Linked DNA regions of Homo sapiens: region 1 is linked to region 2. Evidence: promoter capture Hi-C in 16 types of primary human blood cells and fetal thymus (Javierre and others, 2016). All regions are on one chromosome and are shown on one strand. The core of a region is centred on a gene start or on the middle of the fragment in contact, and the rest is flanking DNA. Distances in the headings are between cores, read along the strand shown. Region 1 overlaps H2AZ2 (H2A.Z variant histone 2). Region 2 holds the start of TMED4 (transmembrane p24 trafficking protein 4).

Region 1 (4,277 bases), core at 597-3,096, 260 kb after region 2:
AGGGTGAGGCAGGAGAATGGCGTGAACCCAGGAAGCGGAGCTTGCAGTGAGCCGAGATGGCGCCACTGCACTCCAGCCTGGACGACAGAGCGAGACTCTGTCTCGAAAAGAAAAACAAAAACAAAAACAAAAAACAAAACAACAAAAAAAACAGACACAGGGTTTCACCATATTGGCCAGGCTGGTCTCAAATTCCTGACCTTGACTCCGTCTCAAAAAAAATAAAAAAATCAAACTCCTGACCTTGTGATCTGCCCGCCTTGGCCTCCCAAAGTGTTGGGATTACAGACGTGAACCACTACGCCAGGCCACCTCCTCGTTTTAAATAGAGCAGTGTTGGGTATACAGGAGAATCAACTGCTGAACTTTAAAAATACAAAAATCAGCAAGGTGTGGTGGCACACGCCTGTAATCCCAGCTACTTGGGAGGCTGAGGCAGGAGAATCGGTTGAACCCAGGAGGTGGAGGTTGCAGTGAGCCGAGATTGAGCCACTGAACTCCAGCCTGGGCGACAGAGCAAGACTCTCAAAAAAAAAAAAAAGAAAAAAAAAAAAAAAAAAAAAGTTGACTGCACCCACACATTCATTGTCCAATCTTAACCTAAATTGTTTTTTTTTTTTGAGACATGGTCTCACTGTCATGCAGGCTGGAGTGCAGTGGTGCAATCATGGCTCACTGCAGCCTCAACCTCCTGGGTCAGGTAATCATCCCACCTCACCCTCTCCACTAGCTGGGACTACAGGTGCACACTATCACATCTGGTCAATTTTTTGTATTTTTTTGTAGAGACAGGGTTTTGCCATGTTGTCCAGGCTGGTCTGGAAGTCCTGGACTCAAATGATCTGCCCACATTGACCTCCCAAAGTGCTGAGATTACAGGCATGAGCCACTGTGTAAACTTTAAAAATTTTAACCAAAGTTCCCAAAGATTTAAAAAAAAGGGGGGGGGGGCTTAGATAGATGGGGCTTGAACCTTGTGAACCACAATGTTCAATGTAAGACACCACACCCAGCCAAAGTCATATATTTTAATATATCTATGTGGTCTATTTCTGCAGAACCTTTAATAGCTGAAATTTCTTTTTTTTTCTTTTTTTTAAGACGGAGTCTCGTTCTGTCGCCAGGCTGGAGTGCAGTGGCGCGATCTCGGCTCGCTGCAACCTCTGCCTTCTGGGTTCAAGCAATTCTCCTGCCTCAGCCTCCTGAGTAGCTGGGACTATACACAGACACACGCCACCATGCCCAGCTAATTTTTGTATCTTTAGTAGAGATAGGGTTTCACTATGTTGGCCAGAATGGTCTCGATCTCTTGACCTCGTGATCTGCCCACCTCAGCCTCCCAAAGTGCTGGGATTACAGGCGTAAGCCACCGTGCCCAGCCGTGAAATTTATTTCTTAATGCTTATAGAAAAGTTTTAAAATGTATTTTAATTAAAATTTAAAAATTTTTAAAAATAAAAGAGGCCAGGTGGCCTCTTTTAATAAAAGGTGGCTCATGTCTGTAATCCCAGCACTTTGGGAGGCTGGGGCGGACAGATCATTTGAGGTCAGGAGTTCGAGATCAGCCTGGCCAACATGGCAAAACCTTGTCTCTACAAGAAAATAACAAAAATTAGCCAGGTGTGGTGATGCACACCGGTAGCCCCAGCTACTCCGGAGGCTGAGGTGGGAGAATTACTGGAACCCAGAAGGCAGAGGTTGCAATGAGCAGAGATCATGTCCCTGCCTTCCAGCCTGGGAGACAGAGAGAGATCCTGTCTCAAAACAAACACACAAGAAAAACCCCAAAAACAAAACACCCCTTGATCATGACACAGAGAAGCTGAAACTATCCATAACATCCATAATTCGATGTTAAATCCCCAGTGGGACACAGATGACTTGGTGAGACTAATGAAATAAATGACAGCAATGATAACTGACATACAGATTAAAAGCTAAATTCCTCAGCCTAGCTCCCAATCACATCTCCCCAAGTAAGACCCTTCTGTTTCCACCAGAATGAATGCGTCTACACTTGACCTACTTGTTACTCAAATTACTTCCCCAATCTGGAATGTAGCTGAAGTTTTATGACTTCCCAACGGATTTTTTTAAAGGAGGAATAGGGATGGGGAAAGTGGTGGTCTGTGACCCAAGAACTCTTGCCCAATTAACTTGTCTTCCTGAAATTTCAAACTGAGTAATATACAGCAATTTTGTATGTATAACCCTGCAGAGAACCAGGACAGACTGAGTCTTTTACTTCTATTATCATATTTGTGATTTTTATATATCATCACACTGGCCAAACTTTACATCATCCCAAATCTTCATAAACTACAACATTATGCTCTAACTTCACAAATACTGTCTACTGATTACATACATACTTCAAAGTTCACTGGGGTATGGTGGTTTATGTCTGTAATCCCAGCAACTTGGGAGGACCACTTGAGGCTAGGAGTTAGAAACCAGCCTGGGTAACATAGGGAGCCCTGTCTCCACAAAAAAATAAAAAATAGGCTGGGCGCGGTGGCTCACGCCTGTAATCCCAGCACTTTGGGAGGTGGAGGTGGGTGGCTCACGAGGTCAGGAGATCGAGACCATCCTGGCTACCACGGTGAAACCCCGTCTCTACTAAAAATACAAAAAAAAAAAATTAGCCGGGCGTGGTGGCGGGTGCCTGTAGTCCCAGCTACTCGGGAGGCTGAGGTGGGAGAATGGCGTGAATCCGGGAGGCGGAGGTTGCAGTGAGCCGAGACTGCACCACTGCACTCCAGCCTGGGTGACAGAGCGAGCCTCTGTCTCAAAAAAAAATAAATAAATAAAATAAAAATAAAAAATTAGCACCCAGCGCAGTGGCTCACACCTGTAGTCCCAGCACTTTGGGAGGCTGAGGCAAGTGGATCACCTGAGGTCAGGAATTTGAGACTGACCTGGCCAACATGGTGAAACCCAGTCTCCTCTAAAAATACAAAAATTAGCCGGGTGTAGTGGCGGGTGCCTGTAATCCCAGTTACTGGGGAGGCTGAGGCAGGAGAATTGCTTGAACCCAAGAAGTGGAGGTTGCAGTGAGCCAAGATTGTGCCATTGCACTCCACCTGGGATACAGAGCAAGACCCTGTCTCAAAATAAATAAATAAATAAATAAATAAATAAATAAATAAATAATTAGCCAGGTGTGGTGGCACACACCTGAAGTCACAGCTACTAGGGAGGCTGAGGCAGGAGGATCCTTTGAACCCAGGAGGTTTGAGGTTGGAGTGAGCTATGATCATGCCACTATACTCCAGCCTAGGTGACAGAGTGAGACCCAGTCTCAAAATAAAAAAATAAAAATAAAAGATAAGAGATTGCTGGCCCTTGCTTAACTTTTAAAAATTTTTTTACTTTGAGATAGGGTCTTGCTCTGTCACCCAGCCTAGTCTGGAACTCCAGGACTCAAGTGTACAATCTACCCACCTCAGCCGCCCAAAGTGTTGGCATTACAGGCGTGAATCACTGTGCCCAGCCCCTTGCTTAGCTTTAAAAACAAGTACACCAAGGTTCTTTTACATTGGCATTGGGTAATAGCTGACAAGATGCATCTCAAACTGCTATTAAAGAAACCAATGAGGCCGGACGTGGTGGCTCAAGCCTGTAATCTCAGCACTTTGGGAGGCTGAGGCAGGTAGATCACCTGAGGTCAGGAGTTTGAGACCAGTGTGGCCAACATGGTGAAACTCTGTCTCTACTAAAAATACAAAAATTAGCTGGGCACAGTGGTGCACACCTGTAGTCCCAGCTACTTGGGAGGCTGAGGTGGGAGAATCGCTTGAATCCGGGAGGCAGAGGTTGCAGTGAGCCGAGACTGGCCATTGCACTCCAGCCTGGGAAACAAGAGTGAAACTCTGTCTCCAAACAAACAAACAAAAAAGCCCCAGTGAGCATAATATGTCTTTTTTCAAATATATTCCATGGGTTTCTGTCACTGAGACTAGTGCACCTTCTGGATGGCCATATACAACAGACATTCCTGTACAAACCTCTGCAGTGAGGTACTCCAGAATCGCAGCACTGTACACGGCAGCAGTGGCACCCACCCTTCCATGGCTTGTGGTGCGAGTCTTCAAGTGTCTGTGGATGCGGCCCACAGGAAACTAAAAGAGAGATGTCTTAGTGGGAAGCACTGCAGAGTCTTAACATTGCACTGACTGTAATCAAAGGCTGAACAATGTAAGCATGAAATAATAAAAAACTTGATCACACATATCAGAAGCCAAACCTATTACGCATCAATAGTTCCCAGGGCCTGT
Region 2 (4,740 bases), core at 663-3,162:
AACACAAAAATGAGCCACGCATGGTGGCACTTGCCTGTAATCCCAGCTACTTGGGAGGCTGAGGCAGGAGAATCGCTTGAACCTGGGAGGCGGAGGGTGCAGTGAGCCGAGATGGCGCCACTGCGCTCCAGCCTGGGCAACAGAGCGAGACTCCATCTCAAAAACAAAACAAAATAAGTACAGATTTTTAGTTTGAGAAGATGAAAAAGTTCTGGAGCTGGATGATGGTGTTGGTAGCACAACATTATGAAGGCACTTAATACCACTGAACTATATAGACAGTTAAAATGACACATTTGGTGTTATATTTTACCACAATAAAATGTTTTGATAAAAAAGCAAAACAGGCAGGGCGCGGTAGCTCACACCTGTAATCCCAGCACTTTGGGAGGCTGAGGCGGGCGGATCACTTGATGTCGGGAGTTCGAGACCAGCCTGACCAACGTGGAGAAACCCCCGTCTCTACTAAAAGTACAAAATTAGCCAGGCATGGTGGCGCATGCCTGTAATCCCAGCTACTCAGGAGGCTGAGGCAGGAGAATCGCTTGAACCTGGGGAGGCGGAGGTTGCAGTGAGCCAAGATCATGGCATTGCACTCCAGCATGGGCAACAAGAGTGAAACTCCGTCTCAAAAACAACAAACAAACAACCTATCTAAACCAATACTTCTCATTCCATTCTCTGCAGAGCTGATCTCCCAAGCAGAAACTTGAGTAGGTATAGTGGGTATAAAGGTCAACTGCCCTCTCAAATTACAAGGAGATATGCACTTGCCCTTTGGTAATCCTGCTCCTTCTGAATCTGTTCCACCTGATCAAGCAACTGGCGGGCGCGGAGCTGTAGCTCCGTCAGCTTATCTTTTGCAGCAATCTCAGGGTAGTTGTTGGCATGCTCCCCAACCTGGATGTCGAGATGCACCCGCTACAAGGAAACATGGAATGTATGAGTGGTGGGGCCTCCAGTTGTCTGTTCCAGGGTATGGAACCCACTATTGTCCCTGGCTGTGGAGCAGAAGGCAACATCTGTCTCCCCAATTCTGACTGTGCTACAAAGTTTCACAATCTTGATAAATCAAAATTTGGAAACAAGTGAGAGATTCTAAGCTGAAGCCAAAGAGAAAATCCTCTTACCAGTTTGCCACCAGCGAAGAGAGCCATCCTGGTAGAATTGGAGTGCAGACAGATTTGATGGTCACCGGGCGTGTGGGAGGTGAACGTGAAGCGGCCCTCCGAGCCGTACTGCCGGGACAGCACCACCTGCAACATATGTGAGTGAAGGCCCCACCTTTATACCGCAGGCTCTCCAAGTGCAAGTTCCTGTCCCTTGAGGCCTCCTCCAGGCAGTGCTTTACACCCCACGGGAGCTCCACTGAAGAACGGCTGCGTGGGCCAACGCCAGCCTTACCTTGCCGTCGGGGTCCTTCACTTCCACGTGCATGCCCAGGCCAGGGGTCGAGGGCAGGAAGACCTCCTTCTGCTTATCCCACATCTGGGTACGATAGTTGCCTGCGGGGCAGACACATAGTCACGACCGGCCCTAGTGGGCCGCCTCTCCGCCCGGCCCCCTCCGACGTGCGGCCCGGAGCTCTAGGCAGGGGGCCTGGCGTCCTCGGGGCACCCTCAGGCTAGGTACTGGGGGAGCCAGCGACCCGGCTGGGCTCGGGAGGAGGGAGCGCCGCCGAGGGCTGAGCTGGGTACAAAGGGCCTCCCCACCCTCAGCCCGCCTGACCGATGACCATGGTCTCGTCGGGGATTTCCTCGATGAAACAGCGCTTCTCGGTCTCGCCGATGTGGAAGTAGAGCCCCTGGGCGCCTGTGGCGCACAGCGCGAGAAGCAGCAGGGCCTGCCGCCCCATCGCCCGCAGAGGCCCAGCCCCGACACCTGCCATCGCGCCTCAGCCCCTAAGCGCCTGCGCACATTTGCGCATCGCTCTGCGCCTGCGCGCCACCCTAGCGACCCTGAGAGTTAGGGGAAGAGGACGCCTGCGCAGTGATATGTACTCGCCGTCTCCTGCAACTCCATCCGTACCGAACACTGCCGCGCCCCGCCCCCTCACACAGCCCGGCGCCCGCCTACCCCCGCAACGAGAGTAGAGGGCGCATGCGCAATGACGTTCGCCCTTAATTTCTCGCCCCTTACCCCGCAGCTTACCTCCGGCATCTCGCAGGGGAGGCACGCCTGCGCAGTCACGCCCGCCCTCGGCCCCAGTCAGCGATTTGGGTCTCGGAGCACCAAGGAGACGGTGGACGGAATCTGACCAGGCTTGGTGGCTACGATGGCCTGAAGCGTGCCTTTTGGGTTCTCAGCTCGGGCTCACAAGTGTTTTCTGTGCTAAATACAAAAAGCCCTGTGATGTTTTGCTTTGCGTGTCCACCTATCTGACTCGTAAGAACCGAGGCTGAATCCAGACCCACACTCTGTCACGTCGGGAGAGCCTGCCGCGGCGAGCCTCTGCGAGCGGGCATTTCTTGGGTGGGGACCAAAAGCCCAGTGCTGCCATAGTTTCGGATCATTCTTTTAAGAAGCTGGGGCCGGGCGCGGTGGCTGGCACCTGTAATCCCAGCACTCTGGGAGGCTGAGGCGGGCGGATCCCTTGAGCCCAGGAGTTCGGGACCAGCCTGGGCAACATGGTGAAACCCCCGTCTCTACAAAAAATTAACCGGTGTGGTGGTGTGCGCATGTAGTCCCAGCTACTTGGGAGGCTGAGGCAGGAGAATCGCTTGAACCCAGGAGGTCGAGGATGCATTAAGCAGTGATCGCGCTCCAGCCTGGGCGACCGAGGGTGATACCTTGTCTTAAAAAAAAGGTGGGAGAGTGGAACGAAAACTTGGAATAAGTAGGGTCATGGAGCTTGTTTACATCCCCTAGTTACAGCACATCCTTTTGAAAGTGAAAAACAAACTGGAATGTTACTTAGTGGGCATGGAATCGAAGCAACGGAAGGTTAAAACTGTTTTTATCAAGGCCAGGCGGGCGCGGTGGCTCACGCCTGTAATGCTAACACTTTGGGCGGCCAAGGCTGGTGGATCATCTGAGGTTAGAAATTCGAGACCAGTTGGGCCAACAAGGTGAAACCCCCGTCTCTACTAAAAATACATTTTATCAACAGAATTTCGAAACTTTTATATAATAGAATAATTACAATGAACTTTCATAAAGAACTTGAGCATACCTGGATTTTGGTATCCGTAGGGGTCCAGGAATTATCCCCCTTGGATAATAACGGAGGGCTGTACTCATCATCCAACTTCAACAACAGTTTGCTGCCTTTCTCATTTCATGTATCCCTTTCTGCATTTTTTTTTGAAGTGCTGTATATTAAAGCAAATCCTGGACATCATGTCATTTCACCTATAAATACGTCAGTGTGTGTCTCTAACAGATAAGGACTTTATACTATTATCACACCCACCAAAATTTTAAAAATTATTTAACATCACTTAATACCTAGTATGTGTTTAATTTTCCCCATTGCCTTAAAAAATTTTGTACATTAGATATTTAGGGTCCAAACAAGGTTTACTTACTGCATTTCATACAAATATATGTCTCTTAATATATAACAATTTTGGCTGGGCACAGTGGCTCATGCCTGTAATCCCAGCACTTTGGGAGGCTGAGGTGGAAGGATCACTTGAGGTCAGGAGTTTGAGACCAGCCTGGCCAACATGGTGAAACCCTGTTTCTACTAAAAATACAAAAATTAGCCAGGTGTGGTGGTGCACACCTGTAATCTCAGCTACTTGGGAGGCTGAGGCAGGAGAATTGCTAGAATCAGGGAGGTGGAGGTTGCAGTGGGCTGAGATGATGCCACTGTACTCCAGCCTAGGCAACAGAGTGAGATTCTATCTCAAAACAAACAAAAACAGGGCCGGGCGCAGTGGCTCACACCTGTAATCCCAGCACTTTGGGAGGCCAAGGTGGGCAGATCACGAGGTCAGGAGTTCGAGACCAGCCTGGCCAATATGGTGAAACCCTACCTCTACCAAAAATACAAAAATTAGCTGGGTGTGGTGGTGCTCACCTGTAGTCCCAGCTACTTGGGAGACTGAGGCAGAAGAATCGCTTGAACCCAGGAGGCAGAGGTTGCAGTGAGCCGAGATCATGCCACTGCACTCCAGCCTGGGTGAGAGAGAGACTCGTGTCCAAAAAAAAAAAAACAAACCATATAACAACATATATATATATTATACATATTATATATATATTATATATATAAATTTCCCCTCTCTTTTTGTTGTTTGTTATTCATGGCATTTACTTATTGAAGAAACTGGGTCATTTGACCAACAGAATTTTCCACTTTCTGGGTTTTGCTGATTGTATCTTCAGGTGTCATTTAACGTTTTTTGTCCCTGGTATGTCCTGTAATCACAGTTAATTCTAGAGTCAGGGGAGGTTTACAGTGAAACTAATGAAGCTTAATCTTCAGGCCCTCCCTTGCATAGACCCCCGTACCTAATTTCGCATTTATAATTTTGTGTCTTTTTCTTAAAGAGGACTGTGAAATTTGTATAGTTTAAGGCCCCACAAAGCTTGGATTTGCCCCTGGCTAGAAGCTTCATTAGGTTTAGGTGTAATGTTGAGGTTTGGGTTTTTTTGTTTTGTTTTGTTTGCAATAACGCTTCGTGGCTGGCACTATGTACTTCTACTGAGGCACAAGGCGGGTTTGTCTCTTAGTAATATTGTAATTCATCTCTCAATTTGGGGGTTGTCATCCTGATTATCCATGAAGTTTAC

What was found. Contacts are between HindIII fragments. The CHiCAGO score rates a contact against its expected background, and 5 or more counts as called.
Region 1: a fragment that was not itself captured here is called in contact with the fragment with the promoter of TMED4 in region 2 in 11 of 17 cell types (monocytes, total CD8 T cells, erythroblasts and 8 more); the score reaches 10.3 in monocytes.

Annotation. Positions count from the first base shown.
Region 1 is chr7:44,836,892-44,841,168 of GRCh38, forward strand. It overlaps H2AZ2 (H2A.Z variant histone 2), which reads right to left. Exons shown (of 5, transcript NM_012412.5): 3 at 4,008-4,121. Among named protein-coding and RNA genes, the nearest start is that of H2AZ2, 9.1 kb to the right of the region's middle. The HindIII fragment of the contact is 6,713 bases long and covers 1-4,277 here.
Region 2 is chr7:44,580,319-44,585,058 of GRCh38, forward strand. It overlaps TMED4 (transmembrane p24 trafficking protein 4), which reads right to left and starts at 1,913. Exons shown (of 5, transcript NM_182547.4): 1 at 1,729-1,913; 2 at 1,405-1,505; 3 at 1,131-1,256; 4 at 775-921. The coding sequence starts at 1,888. RefSeq lists silencers at 1,537-1,636, 2,037-2,196 and an enhancer at 2,287-2,396. The HindIII fragment of the contact is 9,471 bases long and covers 1-4,418 here.